Regions from separate parts of the Homo sapiens genome. Here region 1 is linked to region 2. The links are contacts of gene promoters, found by promoter capture Hi-C in blood cells and fetal thymus (Javierre and others, 2016). All regions are on one chromosome and are shown on one strand. Each heading gives the region's core, a stretch centred on a gene start or on the middle of the fragment in contact. The rest is flanking DNA. Distances are from core to core; before and after follow the strand shown.

Evidence for each region. The method cuts DNA at HindIII sites, captures the fragments that hold promoters and counts their contacts. A CHiCAGO score of 5 or more calls a contact.
Region 1: a fragment that was not itself captured here is called in contact with the fragment with the promoter of ZRANB2-AS1 in region 2 in 2 of 17 cell types (naive CD8 T cells and total CD4 T cells); the score reaches 9.0 in naive CD8 T cells.

The regions. Positions count from the first base shown.
Region 1 is chr1:74,710,849-74,716,486 of GRCh38, reverse strand. It overlaps CRYZ (crystallin zeta), which reads left to right. Exons shown (of 9, transcript NM_001889.4): 5 at 1,857-1,908. Among named protein-coding and RNA genes, the nearest start is that of CRYZ, 19 kb to the left of the region's middle. The HindIII fragment of the contact is 3,662 bases long and covers 2,299-5,638 here.
Region 2 is chr1:71,043,373-71,048,804 of GRCh38, reverse strand. It overlaps ZRANB2-AS1 (ZRANB2 antisense RNA 1), which reads right to left and starts at 2,299. Exons shown (of 3, transcript NR_038420.1): 1 at 1,216-2,299. PTGER3 (prostaglandin E receptor 3) reads left to right here and starts at 989. Exons shown (of 4, transcript NM_198719.2): 1 at 989-2,124. The coding sequence starts at 1,228. RefSeq lists an enhancer at 992-1,575. The HindIII fragment of the contact is 6,286 bases long and covers 1-5,427 here.

The DNA.
Region 1 (5,638 bases), core at 2,880-5,379, 3.7 Mb before region 2:
TGGGGTGGGAGAGAAAGCCTATGTGCCAGGTCTTAGTCTTCAGTGACTAGAAGATGGTAAAGGACAGCAGCATGGAAGGCCAGGCTGAGTGTTATGAGCACCAGGGAAGATGACTGTATTAGTCAGGGTTCTCCAGAGAAACAAACAACGGGATGTGTGTCTGTCTGTCTATCTATCAGTCAATCATCTATCTATTTGATCTTCTATTTGATCTGATCTATCATTTATCTCTATATAAATTCCTTAAGAATCAGTCACTCTGTACACATACACACACACACACACACACGCGCACACAGATTGATTGATTTTAAAGAGTTGACCCATGAAATTGTGGAGGACTGGTGAGTCTAAAATCTGTTGCGGTGGGCCAGCAGATGGGAGACACAAGGAAGAGGTGCAGTTTAAGTCCATAGAAAGTTTGCTGGCTGAATTTACTCTTGCTCATCGGAGGTCAGTCTTTGAAAACAAAAGCCTTCAACTGATTGGATGAGGCCCACCCACATTCTAGAGGGTCATCTGCTTTACTCAAAATCCAGCTATTCCATTGTTAATCTCATTCGAAAAAAAAAAAAAAACACTGTTTCTGTAACAGAGTAATGTTGGAACAAATATTGGGTTCCTTGGCCCAGTCAAGTTGACACATAAAATTAACTGTCACAGCGACTCTGTGCAAGGATTCAGGAGGGGATTTGCCTGCTTTTTCTCCCCTCACCCCAGGCCCCAGGGATTTATGAGAATGTGTCTTTAGTGTTTGAGGGGCATCTTATAAGAATTTTTGAAAAATTTCTTTGGGAGGTATTTCATATCCCATAGTTTAACACTAGTCATCCTATCCCCTTATGTTTATGTTTTACTTTAACATATTGTCCTCAGTCCCTTCAGCTCTAAGCAAGAGTGTGGGAGAAAGCTTCACTTATTGCTCATTGTTGCCACTTCTCAGCTGTTGGTGCATAGCTGGGAGCAGGACTCTGGTTACTGTTCTCTTTCCCAGGTGGAGCATAATGTTCTATAATGTCTCTGCAGTGTGGCCACCCCACATTGTTTGAGGAAGTAAGAGAGCCTTCCTGAGAGTCAGATCTGGATCTCACAGCATCTGCTGGCTTTTGACATTGGCACCGTCCATCTGGAATAGTGAGGCATCCCCTCATGCCTTGCTGCATGTCCCTTCTTTTCAGTACATACTAGAAAAGTAGTCATGTGAACTGGAAGTAAAAAGAAAATGCCATTTCACCAGAGAATCTGGACATTTCAGGGGGATGACATGGGAATCTTTGTGATAGAATTTATTGCATTTCCTACTCTCTGACCTTTGCTAACTCAGCATTCCTCCCTGAAAGAGTACAAGGCTGGTGCAACCTGATGTTCAGAGACATGGAGAAGAAAAATTTCTTTCTTTCCTTGGGCAAAAAAAATAGCTACTGTGTTTACTTGGACATTACTCTAGACCACAGAATAAAGACTGAGCTATATAATAAACCTGCTTTGAGGCCCTTTCTGTGGGGGATATATGGGAATGAGAGATTCCAGATCCTCCAGGCTCAGCAATTTTACTTCACAACCCACAAGGACTGTAGCCACTCAGAAGTAGCACCACATAGTCATCCCAGTGTCCAGCAGCATAGTGCCTGGAACATAAAGACTCCCAATAAATATTTGTTCAAGGAATAAATGAATTGAAGGCTTTGTTTATTCTGTGGAGCTTAGGGAATATTTGGGGCTGTATGTCAGGTTGCATTTGCTGTTTGTGTAAGTGTTAGCCAGACTAGGGGTAGAAATTCCTTAAGATGATGAAAACACCCGAGATTAATTAGCTTCAAAAAATAAGGTGATGTAACTTATGCTTTCCTTTGCAGTGCCTGTGTGAAAGCTGGAGAGAGTGTTCTGGTTCATGGGGCAAGTGGAGGAGTAAGTATTTTTTTTAATGTATTTTGAAACAAGCTTGGGTTTATGGGTTTCACATTATAGTTCCTTTGGTCATTTTTAAAAGTCAGATTTATAAATAGAGTCAAAGGTGCTTTTTTTCTTTATGTAGTAAAACTTTTGATTTTGGTCTTCTGAAGGTGATGTTTTGTCATTAGTTTAGCATTTCTTGGTTAATAAACTCAACAGAGCACCCCTTCAAAAATATGTTAGATTTTCCACCTGTATTGGGTGTAGACTAAGATAAACTGGCCTTGTTTTTGCCTTCAAGTAGCATATGTTATAAAAATATTTATTTAGAATTTTAAACAGTTCTTTAAGGTTGATATTAATTCCATATTCCCTTAGATAAGGAAACTAAGGCTCATTAAAGCTTACCTATGTTGCCCCAGACAGCACGGTAAAGCCACACTGTGAATTCTTAGTCCTTCTATCTCCCTTCTGCTGCTTGCCTGCTGCACTTTGATGACATCCATGGAGTGCACGTATACAGCCCTGTCCTTAACACCACAACCCATGGCTGAAAATGCTAATGTGGGGGAATGGGGGAGGAGGACTCAGAACTTAAAATAAGCCCTTCAATGAAATCACCCAATGCAGGGCTGTCAGAAACCTCTTCGAGAAACTAGCTGCCAATCTGCCTCTCAGGAGCTTAGAGGGAAAAGTTAGAGCTCTGCAGTTAGAATTTAACAAGAAATCCACATGAACTCTGTCACTGGATGCTTTGGAAATTTTGGAGATAAGATTTTGCATTTTAAAAATAAAAGGCCTGGGGCTAGATGCTTACTTTGAGGAGGCTGTTAACCATTTCAGAGCACTGTGTATTCTGGAGAGTGGATTGAAAGAAGTAACCTATTAAATGGCACATAGTCCCCTGAATAATGAGTGGTATCCTGAAAATGTGAATTTACCTTTAAAAGTGCCCAGGTAATTTCAGTCCTTTTTGTCTCTCTGTTTCTTTAGGTAGATGAATCACGAGGTTTCACACCTAGCTTCCTACACTTCAAATAGATCAATTCTAAAGGATTTCACAGATCAAACAATTTATGAAAAAACACTAGGATTGTCTTTATGGGGCTTGAGACAATATGACAGATATACCTTGTCCAAAACTCCCACTGTTTAACTTCACTGAAGAGGCTATTTTTGGGTTAAATTAAATTTAACCCTAAGTAACTAAAGGGTCTGTCAAACACATACATTTATTTAAATTACCCTGGCTTTCAGAGAGCTAACTTAGTGCTCTGTGCAGAAGGGAAAGATTTCAGTAGGAAGGGGAGAGAAGAGTTTAAAGAAAATCTCTTTATATTCCCTTTACCCTCTTGTAAAAAGCCCAGTTGCTTCACCATGATTTTTTTTTAAGGTAAAATCCACACTGTTCTCTGAGCTGGCTGAGTTTGTTAAATCCTCAGCTGGCAGGGATAGGCTGGTGACCTGGTGTGTGAAGTGCTTCTGATCCTCCCTGTCCTATCAGAGGGAAACAGTACTGGGTTTTGCCTTGCTTCTGTTTGTACTTTCTGTCCTCATTTAATTCGAATTCCTTTGGGATTATGTTGTGTGTTTAAAATGGTGTGGAATTTATGAACACAGCTATTATCCAGATATGTTGGTGAGGAGTGCCCTATTTTAGTGTTAGCAAAATAAGTAGAAGAAAAATAGTTGACACATAATGGTGCATAATCTGTTGAAGGATCATTGCTGGTATAATTGTTGACAAGAATAGAATAAACAGTGCCTTTTTAAAAGAGCTATTGAGTGCCCTTTTAAAGCAGTTAGAACACAAGGAGATGTAGTTACGTTAGCTTTTTAAAGTGTGGTTTTATTAGAGGTCTTTTATTTAAATTTGAAAATTAAAATAGAAAATTAATTGTGCCCACCCCATAGTGGGTTGTGTTTTATCTAATTGGATGTCTCTCTCCTCCATCAGACAGTGAGTTTCATGTATTTGTTTGTTTCAGTTAAACAAATTCCTGCCATAACCTGGCTGAGTCCAGCCTCGTTATTCCCATGTGCCATACAATCTTTAAGGTCCACTTCAGGCCTGGAAGTCTGTTACAGCTTTAATCTGTTTCTATCATTATTTTTCATCTTAATTCTTTTCTTGCCGAACCCGGTCCTCCCTGTAAATCACTGGTTATGAGTAGCGGGTGATTTTGCATCATTTCTCCTTCCGCTCTGGGACATTTGGCAATGTCTGAAGACATATTTGGTTGTCACAACTTGGGGAAGGGGTTCTGGCATCTAGAGAGTAGATATCCTTCAATACATGGGATAGTCTCCCACAGCAAATAATTATCTGGCCCAAAATGTTGATAGTGCCAAGTTTGGGAAACTCTGCTCTAAATGTATGTGACACTTATTTGTACCATCATTTGTCATCTAATCAGATATATTTCCTAGTATTGTTATTTAAGTAATTGCTCTTTTGTCTATATTCTTAAATTACTTTGATTTCTCTTTTATACTAAGCACATTTATCTGGTATTCTAGTGATTTCTTACAATCCCAGCATTTTGGGAGGCTGGGATTTTGCCAGGTTGCCCAGGCTGGTATCGAATTCCTGACCCCAGGTGATCCACTCACCTCAGCCTCCCAAAGTGCTGGGATTACAGGCATGAGCCACCATGTTCCACCTAATCCTTTGGCTTTAAATACCATCCGTAAGATAATGAATCTCTAATATATATCTCCAGTTGAACCCTTTTGAGTCCATACTCATATTCAACTGATTGCTGAACATCTTCGCCCGTAAGTAGATGAGCACTGTGCAGCTCAGCATGTTACAAGTGATTCTTTTATTTTTATTTTTTAGAGACAGGGTCTTGCTCCGTTGCCCAGACTGGAGTGCAGTGGCATGATCACTGCAATCCCAAACTCCTCAAATTCCTGGGCCCAAGCGATCCTCCTGCCTCAGCCTCCCACATAGCTGGGATTACAGGCATGCGCCACCACACTTGGCAAAGTGAAATCTGGAGATTTTCACAAACTTAGTGTTCTCCAGTCTTCTCACTCTACCCAGTTAATCTGGCCAAAGACATAGGAGACAGCCTGTATTTTTCTCTTTTCCTCATCTCCCGCATTCAATCTGTGAGGAAGTCCCATTAGCTTACCTCTAAACTATATCTGAATTTGTTTATTTTTTCCAGTGCCACCACCTTTGTTCAAGCCAGCTTCATCTCTTATCTAGACTGTTCTAACAGCTACAAACTGATCTTCCTCCTCCCATTTTCCTCACCGCTTTCTTTGTGCCTCACATGTAATTGGAGCAACCTTTTTAAAGCCTGAGTCAACCAGATCATTTCCTGGCTTAAGCTCTCCCGTGGTTCTGCACAGGTTTTAATATACTCGGAAGCCTCTACCCTCACCCCTCAGATTCTGTGTGACTTGGCCTTTCTGGCCTCATCTTCGACCCTTTCGTACACGCCCCTCCCTGAGACACACTGCCCCTCTTTCTGTTCTTTGACCCCAACTGCATTCCCACCTCGCCAGGTTAGCCATGGCCATTCACTATGCCCACAGCATCCTCCACGTGGCTGACCGGATGTTCTCGTGGCTTGTTCCTCACTTTTTTCAGGTCTCATTTTTTCAGAGTGGCTCTTCCTGATGACCTAAATAGCCCCTATTCCTGTCTCTTTAACCCAACAGCCAGTCTTATTTTTTCTTAGCACTTTTATTTCCTGAATTTATTTTATTCATTCATATGACTATTATCTTC
Region 2 (5,432 bases), core at 1,050-3,549:
AATGAGAAAATGCTTGTGAGAAGTACATAAAATATTGGCTTACTGAAAGATGTTACGAGGCAAGCAAGTATGCCTATTTTCATTCAATGTTTATTATTTCAAAGGCAAAGTTTCCATATAGATTAAGGCCTTCATAACATCTGAATACCTTTTCTAGTTCTTATTGTATGAAGATAAGAAGGATGGTTGGAGGCTTTGTAAGGAATACCTTTCTCTTCTGCTCCCCTCTCACTCCCATAGGCTGGGAGCAGTTGATTTCACTACCTCAGATATGCAAATTGATGCCACCTTCCTGTAGCCACTTTTGCCATAGCTGACCTTTTTGTTGGGTGGTGGGGAGGGGAGCGGGCAGGATTAGGCGAGGGGTAGTAGTTGGGATTTCTTGGTCTTGGAATTCAACCATCCGATGTATTTGTTTCCCTGTGTCTATTCCCTTAAGTCTACAGGCACTGTCTAGTAATTTTATAGTTTTCAGCGGCACCCCAGGGGACAGGACACCTTGGCCTTTTTATAATCACTCTAGAGTCACAAAGCAGAAAGGAAAAAAGTTAACGATCAGCTATGCAAAGGCTTGTGTGGATTGCTTAAGGACAGGCGATTTTCACTTTACCAGAGTTACTAAAGGACTTCAGGAGAAGGATCCCGTCCCTGTAGGAGCGTTTGTGGTTGAAGAAGCAGGAGGACGAGCGCTCAGGTGCGCCTCGGCAGTTTGCCTGGGGTCCGCAAGTCCAGTGCTACTTATTAGCTGCTTGCCGTCCACCGACACTTTAGCGGAGAACTGGAGGAGACCCCAGTGGGCTCCCGGTCCGGCCAGGAGCAGGGCGTTTCAGAGGAGACCGTCTGGGGCTTCCCAACCCAGGCGATCAGGATAGGCAACAGCCAAGAGAGGCGCTCAGTTGCTTTGCACCCTCCTCCCACCTCGGTTCTGTCCACACCCACGGGCGCCCCGCCCCCTCGGCCTTATAAAGGGGACTCGGCACCTCCGCGCGCCTCGCCACCAGAGGTTTCCCAGAGAGGAAGGCGTGGCTCCCTCCCGGGCCAGTGAGCCCTGGCGCCGCCGCGGCCGCGGTCCCAGCAGCGGAGTAGGGCGGCGGCTGCGCCCCGCACCATGGGGGGCAGCCCAGCCCCAGCCGCGGTAAACGCCGACCTCCGCCGCCGCCCGCGCCGCGTCTGCCCCCTCCCGCTGCGGCTCTCTGGACGCCATCCCCTCCTCACCTCGAAGCCAACATGAAGGAGACCCGGGGCTACGGAGGGGATGCCCCCTTCTGCACCCGCCTCAACCACTCCTACACAGGCATGTGGGCGCCCGAGCGTTCCGCCGAGGCGCGGGGCAACCTCACGCGCCCTCCAGGGTCTGGCGAGGATTGCGGATCGGTGTCCGTGGCCTTCCCGATCACCATGCTGCTCACTGGTTTCGTGGGCAACGCACTGGCCATGCTGCTCGTGTCGCGCAGCTACCGGCGCCGGGAGAGCAAGCGCAAGAAGTCCTTCCTGCTGTGCATCGGCTGGCTGGCGCTCACCGACCTGGTCGGGCAGCTTCTCACCACCCCGGTCGTCATCGTCGTGTACCTGTCCAAGCAGCGTTGGGAGCACATCGACCCGTCGGGGCGGCTCTGCACCTTTTTCGGGCTGACCATGACTGTTTTCGGGCTCTCCTCGTTGTTCATCGCCAGCGCCATGGCCGTCGAGCGGGCGCTGGCCATCAGGGCGCCGCACTGGTATGCGAGCCACATGAAGACGCGTGCCACCCGCGCTGTGCTGCTCGGCGTGTGGCTGGCCGTGCTCGCCTTCGCCCTGCTGCCGGTGCTGGGCGTGGGCCAGTACACCGTCCAGTGGCCCGGGACGTGGTGCTTCATCAGCACCGGGCGAGGGGGCAACGGGACTAGCTCTTCGCATAACTGGGGCAACCTTTTCTTCGCCTCTGCCTTTGCCTTCCTGGGGCTCTTGGCGCTGACAGTCACCTTTTCCTGCAACCTGGCCACCATTAAGGCCCTGGTGTCCCGCTGCCGGGCCAAGGCCACGGCATCTCAGTCCAGTGCCCAGTGGGGCCGCATCACGACCGAGACGGCCATTCAGCTTATGGGGATCATGTGCGTGCTGTCGGTCTGCTGGTCTCCGCTCCTGGTAGGTAGTTCCAGGGTTGGGGGAAGTCAGGATGCGTGTGCGAGTAAGCGGGAACCTAAGACTTTGCTAAGTGGCAGCACCCGCAGGGGTGTGTTTGCAACCGCAGAGCGCTGAAGTGTCCTTTCCTCCTGCCCGCGCGGTCTTGGTTACAGCTTCAGAGCTGAGCTCCTCACTTACTAGCTGAGCGCCTTCCAAGAGCCAGGATTCGCATTAGGCACTGTTTATGAGCACATAGAGATCACAGGGCTGCTCACATTCTAGTCGGGTAGGAGACAGGATGTGTCATTGAAATGACATATATGCAGAGCTAGAAGTTTGTCCTGAGTGCATTAAAAGCAGAATTGCTATGATAACTGTAGCCTGATATTGTGGGGTTTTTTTTTTTTTTTTTTTTTGAGACGGAGTCTCGCTCTGTCACCCAGGCTGGAGTACAGTGGCGCAGCCTCGGCTCACTGCAAGCTCCGCCTCCCGGGTTCACGCCATTCTCCTGCCTCAGCCTCTCCGAGTAGCTGGGACTACAGGCGCCCGCCACCACGCCCGGCTAATTTTTTTTTTTTATTTTTAGTAGAGACGGGGTTTCACCGTGGTCTCGATCTCCTGACCTCGTGATCCACCCGCCTCGGCCTCCCAAAGTGCTGGGATTACAAGCGTGAGCCACCGCGCCCGGCCGGGTTTTTTTTTTTTAATTTCAAATTCCTCTTTCACGTTAATAAGATTTTCAGTCTGCAACCCCATACAGTCACAGCCCTCCTGCAGCTTCTGAAAGACTGCGCGACCTATGGGTGCCTTCAAGGTTCATTCTTGATGAGGCAGGAGAATGAAAGATACGAGTTGCCTCCTCAGCCTTTCGCCATGGTGCTTGACCCTCTAGGAAGTGCCCGAACGACAGTCAGTGGGATCCGGAAGCTCAGCAGCTTCTTCAGGCCAGCATTTACTTACCCTTGTAGCACTCAAGCAGGGTTCGCTAATCCTGAGATAGGAGGTAGAGGTTTCTCCATGTCCTAGCTCCTCACACCAGAGCAATGCAGAGGAGCAAGGGATGTTTGCAGAGGCTCTTTGCCTAACACCTGCCCTTACGTGATATTTTTGAGGTTTTTTTGTCTGTGTTACTTTTAGCTAGAAATGTCCGTGTGTAAGTGCTGTTTACTAATTCCTGAAGAATGGATGCTTACTTAGGCCCTGGGGTGTCTGGGTTAATAGATGTTGCAGAAAGAGCGATATGGTCACTGTTACAAAGGTATAACCAACTATATGTATTATACAGTTGTGGAAAACCTTTGAAACACGTGAACGCAGTTTTTTTTCTTTCCTAATTATGGTAAAATATATTACATACAATTCAGTATTTTAACCATTATTATGTGTACAGTTCAGTGGCATTAGGCATTAAGTACGTTGAGTTTTTTGTGCGCCATGTATACTTTTAAATCCCTTGCATTTGAAAATAGAAATGTAATTTCTTTAACCTGGTTTGGTAGATTGGAGCACAAACCTTGGCTCCAAATCAGTGACATGAGGGGACAAGGAGTGTTATGCTGAGACCTAACTGCCCACAAGTCGCTGTATGGTCACAGTTCTTTATTCCAGGAGTTGGAACTCAGGCTGATGTCATCACTATGGCTTATCAAAACCAGCACCAGTTTTAGATATACAGTATTTACTTTTATGGCTGAGGAATGGAGTGTACAGGTGGCCAACTAGGAAGGAAGAAAGAGTTCTAAATAGTAAACACTTTACTAAAGTGTGGTAATTAATATAACTTTAAAGGCAAACAGGGTATCAGTTTTTCACAAGTGTCATTTGAGTCCCACATCTTTGAGTTTGCTGTATCACATGATTTATATCCTAGGGAAAAAAAATGCAGTTAAATCAATTGAACAAAATACCCATACAGTTAATCAGACTTATAATTTATTGTTTGTGCATTTTGTTTTTAAGTCAAAGCGAAGCCATGTAGTGTGTTTTTGATTTAGACACTTTAATTCTAGTACCAAAAGTATGGTGGCCTCAGAAAGAAAGTAGATCAATCTTGAAAACTGTAATTTAGGATGGCCAAACTCACTCTTTCAAGAAAGACTGCATTTGAAACTAGTCTTACTTAATTTCAATTTATTTTCATTTGGATAATACTTATTGATTTATAGCATTTTACTGGGTACTTTATTAATTCAATTATAAAAACATTAAACAAAATAAATTAAACATGTGATCATATCAAAAAGGAGAATTTTTTTTTTTTTTGAGACTCTGTCTCAAAAAAAAAAACTCCAGGCTGGAGTGCAGTGGTGAGATCTCAGCTCTCTGCAGCCTCCACCTCCCAGGTGCAAGTGATTCTACTGCCTCAGCCTTTGGAGTCACTAGGATTACAGGCGCCCGCCACCACACCTGGCTAATTTTTGTATTTTTAGTAGAGATGGGGTTTCACCATGTTGGCCAGGCTGGTCTCGAACTCCTGACCTGAGGTGATCCGCCCACCTCGGCCACCCAAAGTGCTGGGATTACAGGCATGAGCCACCGTGCCCGGCCTAGGAGAAATGAGAACTTTTTAAAGAAAATGGTTCCATCGGCTGGGCGCAGTGGCTCACGCCTGTAATCCCAGCACTTTGGGAGGCCGAGGTGAGTGGATCATTTGAGGTCAGCAGTTCGAGACCAGCATTCCAACATGGCCAAACCCCGCCTCTACTAAAAATACAAAAATTAGCGGGGCATGGTGGCATGCGCCTGTAATCTCAGTTACTCGGGAGGCTGATGCAGGAGAATTACTTAGGCTAGGGAGACAGAGGTTGCTGTGAGCCGAGATCACGCCACTGCACTCCAGCACGGGTGACAGAGCAGGACTCCCTCTAAAAAAAAAACAAAAAACAAAAAAAAAACTCCAAATATCTTCAAAAAGATTTACTGTACAAAGTTGGAATTACTACAAAGAAAAGAAACTGGCAAAGCTGCTTTCTTAATAGAGAATTATAAGAATAAAAACACTAGAATTTAGTGAATTGAATTTTCAGCATATTAGTGTTAAAATGAGAGATTAACGCTGTTTTTTCTAACTATGAGTGTAATATAGGTTTCCTGCTAGCATTCGTTAAGTTGGGTGTAGGATACTATTCTAATTGTCCAAACTTCTTACTTGAAAGGACCCTGAGTATATCCTGGAAGACTATCATGACTATAATAAATATTCAGTTGTTACTGCAGGAAAACTTGGTAGTACAGAAACACCATAATAAGAAAATGTCCCAACAGCTACAAGTTCACACTACATAAATACTTAAATAGAGGTTTATGTATCCTTAAACAAAAGCTTTGTT